Regions from separate parts of the Homo sapiens genome. Here region 1 is linked to region 2. The links are contacts of gene promoters, found by promoter capture Hi-C in blood cells and fetal thymus (Javierre and others, 2016). All regions are on one chromosome and are shown on one strand. Each heading gives the region's core, a stretch centred on a gene start or on the middle of the fragment in contact. The rest is flanking DNA. Distances are from core to core; before and after follow the strand shown. Region 1 overlaps PRDM16 (PR/SET domain 16). Region 2 holds the start of ACTRT2 (actin related protein T2).

Evidence for each region. Contacts are between HindIII fragments. The CHiCAGO score rates a contact against its expected background, and 5 or more counts as called.
Region 1: a fragment that was not itself captured here is called in contact with the fragment with the promoter of ACTRT2 in region 2 in 4 of 17 cell types (megakaryocytes, fetal thymus, M0 macrophages and 1 more); the score reaches 11.3 in megakaryocytes.

The regions. Positions count from the first base shown.
Region 1 is chr1:3,280,356-3,283,055 of GRCh38, reverse strand. The region is part of intron 3 of PRDM16 (PR/SET domain 16); the gene reads right to left. It overlaps LOC124903828 (collagen alpha-5(IV) chain-like), which reads right to left. Exons shown (of 2, transcript XM_047436627.1): 1 at 1-2,700. Among named protein-coding and RNA genes, the nearest start is that of MIR4251, 150 kb to the right of the region's middle. The HindIII fragment of the contact is 1,010 bases long and covers 923-1,932 here.
Region 2 is chr1:3,020,203-3,022,902 of GRCh38, reverse strand. It overlaps ACTRT2 (actin related protein T2), which reads right to left and starts at 1,436. Exons shown (of 1, transcript NM_080431.5): 1 at 1-1,436. The coding sequence starts at 1,216. The coding sequence ends at 83. The HindIII fragment of the contact is 17,158 bases long and covers 1-2,700 here.

The sequences.
Region 1 (2,700 bases), core at 178-2,677, 260 kb before region 2:
CCCACCCGGCCTCACAGCCTCGCCTGTCTCACAGGGAGCCTTCTGCAGCATTGACTCTGCACTGAAAGATGACAGTGTCAAAGAAAACTCAGAAGGAAGGGAAGGGAGACGCCCCTCCTCTAACCGCCCTAATACTACCACGCCTCTCACTGCACCTGCAGGGGAGCCCTCACTACTCCTTGGAGTGACCCCGGGAGCTTGGGCTAGCGCTGGCTGCCCACCACCCTCGTGCCCCTCCGGCCACGGCTGCCTCCTGTGTCCCACGTTCGCCAGGCTTCAGACGGACAACAGTGTCTCCTCCCTAGGGAGAAAGGAAGCTGCCTGAGGAGCTTCGGAGTGGCAGTGACCAGCTCTGGTGGCCATGCTGATTCCTGGGTCTCGGGAGATGCCTGCTCTCTTGGCGAGTTTTTTCCAGACACCAAGACCAGGAAGGCTTCAGTGACCTTGGCAATAAGTCTTTCCCCATTTCCCTGAGAAGGTGACCATCCTCAGGTGGATTGAATCGTGGTGAGAGGTGTGCATGGAGCAGCATCAGGGGTATCCTCAGCTAAGTGCCCGCTGGGACAGAGCTGAGGAACAGGCTTTCCAAACCAGGGGGCCCTGCGGCGCTGGCCCCAGGTTCTGCTGAGGGTGACCCTGGCCTGTCCTAAGCCCGACAGTGGGGGGACAAGGTCTCTGGGTCGAGGACCTGTGGGGGCCAAGCAAGGAGCCCAGAGCCCCCACTCCACACACAGGCAGCGCCCTGCTAAGCCAGCTGGCAGGGCCAGCCTGTGTCTGGGGAAGGGCTGGTGCCCGGCACCTGCTGACCTCTCTGGGGAAACGTCTGCACACTGAAGCATGGCCTCCCTGAGCACATGCCTCTTCTAGAACATTCTGGGAACTCACTGCTCAGGCCTGTGAAGGGAGTCAAGGTTCGGAAGCTTTTCATGTGCAAGCCCAAAGCTGCTTCGGTGGTAAGGAGAGAGCTGGCGTCCCATACCTAGAGGCTGGACCTGGGGTTCTCAGTTCAGGTCACATGTTTGACTGAAGGGTTCATGGCTGACCTGACTGCAGCCCAAGGCCTTTCCTGCAGGCCAGCACTCCTTCTAGAACACCCCTCCACATCCAGGGCTGCGGGCGCCCACCTTGGCCTCATGCCAGCTCCAGGCAGACTGGGGCTCCAGTCTCCCTGAGCACCCTGCACCCCCTGGTACAGGGATGGCGTCTGCCTGCTCCTTATCCCTGGTTTCCTGAAAGCAACTCATCGATCGGACCATAGCTCATCAATCAATCCGGCCATAGCTAATCTGTGAATCCAACCATAGCTCATCAATGAACCCAATCAGAGCACATCAAACCGATCATAGCTAGTCAATCAATCTGGTCATAGCTCGTCAATGAATCCAACCATAGCTCATCAATGAACCTGATCACAGAACATCAGTCTGATCATAGCTCATCAATCAATCTGGTCATAACTCATCAATGAATCTAACCATAGCTCATCAGTGAACCCAATCAGAGCACATCAAACCGATCATAGCTAATCAATCAATCTGATCATAGCTCATCAATCTGATCATGCTAAGTTGTGAATGACTGATAAGTTTCAAGGCTGCTTCTCTCAAGGAGATTGGTGTTTTATTGGCAGGCACAGGAATGATCCCTATTTCGATTTCATATAGTGGACACCTACTTATTTCTAAATGACCATGGCTGGGGTGGGCGTCTCAGTGCCAGCCTGGTCTGGAGCACAGGTGGAGGGTTCTGGCCACCGGCAGCTGTAGGAAGGGAGCGTCTCAGCAGCCAGGCCTCCTCCTGGGCGACAGTGCCCACAGCTGCGTTCTCAGGTAGGGGCTGGGTGTGAGCCAGCAAGGCAGATGGCAACGTTTCGAGTTGAAGAGGACATCTGGGCATCTTGCAGCATCCTCCTAGGGCCCAGTTTCTCAAGCTTCTTGACAGTCCAGAATGCCAATGGCCCCACTTTTGAGACAGTGGGCTGAGGCTGGACAGGTGCAGGGACTTGCCCGGTGTTGAACAACCACCCAGGGAAGGAGGCCCAGGCAGTGCTGTCCTCAGCCCAGAGCCAACCTCGCTGGGCAGCCACTCGGCCTCCCAGATTCAGAACTGGGGAGAAAACAAAACCCATGGATGGAGATTTGACAAAAGCCCTGGGGGCTCCGCATTGTTTCTGACCAAATTTCCCTGCCCCTGCCCCAGGGGCTGTGAGAACCCCACTTTGATTTCTCCTGGGCAGAGACCCCTTGGAGACAGGGTGGGTATGGCCCGGGACGGCCAGTCTAGCCTGCTTCTCACTTCACCTAGGAACGGGTCTTTCTCAAGGTTCCCTTTCATTCACATTTACTGTTTTCAAAGCTAAGCAACAGCCTTCATGCCTCAGAGAAGGTCTTAGTTCTTAGTTGGTGCCAGTGTGACCTTAACGCCACAGACCTTGCTGGGGTGAGAGGTGGGTTCTTCCAGCTGCCTCCAGGCTCCAGGTGGGAGTCGAGGGAGGCGATGGAAGGCCTGAGGTGGGAAGGACGGACCTTGTTGGAATGTACGCCGTCCCTCCGCACATGAAACTCTGGCTTTTCTCTGGTGTGAGGTTGGACGCTGGCAGTAAGGGTGGGGGGACTCAGGCAGAAAACCACTTCCTCTGTGTGCAAACAGAGAACTCTGCACCCTCCCAGATATACCTGCCCCAGGTGAGACAGGGAGCCA
Region 2 (2,700 bases), core at 187-2,686:
TCCGGCATTGGTCCTTTATTGAACATCCTCCCAAAGCTGGGGCTAGGGTTCACCCCCCACGGTACCCAACGAGAAGCGGCCTTCAGAAGCATCTTCTCTGCACCACGGAGGTCCCAAACTCCTTGAAGTCTGCGGCGGTGACCCACATCTGCTTGAAGCTACTCAGAGAGGTGACGATGGAGGCTCCAATCCAGGTGGAGAACCACCGGTCGGGGGGAGCCGTGATCTTGATGGGGGTGTCCTTGGAGGCCAGCTGCTCCAGCTCCTTGAGAAGCCGGTCATCCAGCCCGTGGAACAGGGTAGTGCCCCCCGACAGCACAATCTCCCCAAAGAGGATCTTCTGGATGTCGGTATCACACTTGGTGATGCTGCTGGAGACCATATTCGAGAGCCCGGGGCTCTGGCTGCCCAGCTGCTGGGGCACGAACAGGGCCTCGGGCGCCTGGTGCAGCGGGTCCCCGAGGCTGATGATGTTCCCGTCGGGCAGCTTGTACTCCCTCAGGACCTCCTCCGGCCTCCGGGAAAGCTCCTTCTCGGGCTCCAAGGCCACGTAGCACAGCTTCTTTTTGATGTCGTCCACGAGACCCTTGTCCAGCTGGCAGGGGAAGGTGTGGCCGCTGGCCAGGAGCAGCTGCATGAGGAGCTCCGTGATGTCCCTGCCCGCCACGTGGAGCTTGGTGACTGCGTGGGGCAGGGAGTAACCCTCAAAGATGGGGACAGTGCAGGTGACCGCATCCCCGCTGTCCACCACCAGGCCCGTGACACAGGCAGAGGCGTAGAGAGCCAGCACCGCCTGGTCCGACAGGTAGAAAGCGGGCACGCCGAAGTTCTCGAACATGACTTCTGCCATCTTCTCACGGTTCTCCCTGGGGTTCAGGGAGGGCTCCGTTGCAAGCAGGGGCTGGTCGCTGGGTTTCACGCCTAGCTCCCACTCAAAGAGGTGCTTCCAGAGTCTCTCCACGTCATCCCACCCTGTGATCAGGCCACGCTCGAAAGGGGAGTGCAGCTGCAGGGCCTCCTGCTTGTACAGGGCCTCCTCCCCCACAAAGTACTTCTTCTGGTTGGCCTCTGCTGAGGGAGCCTGGAATTTCAGGTGCCCCACGATGGAGCTGACCATGTGCCGGGGTCCAAACTCCCCAGACAGGCCCGCTTTGCAGAACCCCGAGCCATTGTCAAAAATCACAGCCGGGGAGTCTAAAGCGTGCGGATTAAACATGCCCGCAGCCTTCCCTTCTCAGCCTCATCAAAATAAAGACCAGCCCTCCAGGGCCGCTTTGTGATGCAATAGGGGATCCCACAGCTCTTCCCACAGCTCTCGGGGTGTCTCAAGGCAGGGCTAGCACCGTGCCCGGGAGCCCTGCATCCTCAGCCGCAGGTCTGCTCTCCCTCCAGGTGGCCTGGGCCTGCTGAGGCCTCTTCCAGGGGGCCAGGGGGTTGTCTCCTAGGTAACAATCTAGCCAAGGCAACGATTGTCCTGAGCCTCAGAGGCCCTGGGGGTGGGGCTCTGAGTCCCCCATCCCCCACAGGGTGAGGTGAGAGAGAGAGAGAGAGACAAGTGCATCCTAGGGCGGTGCTGGACAAGCCTGTGGGCTGAGGCAGAGACTTAGCTTTAGAGTGGAGAGAAGCAGCCCAGCCTGCGTGCACCCTAGAAAACCAGCTTCTCTGGCCCCTGAGCTGCAACTTCTGGGGTGACAACACTTCCCTTTGCTAAGGGGGAAAACCAAGCACCAGGTCGGAGGGGTGTTGTAAGCAGTTCTGTCCCAGCAGGCACTTAGAATGTGCTTTTGAATAGTGATTCCCCCAGGAAGCTCTCAGGGATTTCTCCTCCCTCCATCCCATTAGTCCTGGCTGTCTGTCCCACTGGGTAGACCCTATTCAAAGCCCTCTGGGCTGCTGGCCCTTTGTCCAGGAATACATCTCTGCTCTGGCTTGAGGCCAGCACCCCTCATTCCTCTCTGCAGACTCTGAAGTGCCAGCACACAACAAAGTCCAGCAGCCATAGAGTTGGGAACCCAACAGCCCTGAAGATATGGCCTGCTGGTTTCACATGGGTAGCCTGGATTGCAGCCTGTGACACCTCTCTGTGTCTATGAGCTGCCACACAGTCAGGCCACAACCACAGAGCAATGCTCAGAGGTGACCAGGCCATTAAAGGTCAAGGCCTGAGCATGACCAGGAAGGAGGCACCGGGCCAGGCCAAGGGCACCCACAACAGTGCACGCCCGGCACTCAGACCCCCGCTTTGTCTTCCGCTTGGGGAGAAAGTGGGAGGGGATCCAACCTGGGAACCAGCTTCACTTTTTTCCTAAGGAGGTTGGAGGTGGCCTTGGAGAATGTGAGGTTTATTCTACCTCTCCTGTCATATCCACAATCATGCTCCAGCCCAGCTTGGCCCCCCAGAGTTCTCCCAGAGGACGCCTCCCGGGGTCACTCCCTTCCTGGAGCCCCTCAGCTCCTGCTGGTGGCCCCCTCTGTGTGTCCTGCCTGCCCTGCTGACCCACCAGCAGGCATTAATCCGATGGTGGTGTAGACACATGTTGTAGATGGGCAGTCTAGACACGTGGTACAGACATGTGGTGTAGACACGAGGTACAGACGCATATGGATGTGCCGTGTAGATGCATGGGATAGATGGGTGGTGTAGACACGCGCGGTACACTCGTTGTTGATGTGTGGTGTAGATGTGTCTTGTTGACACGT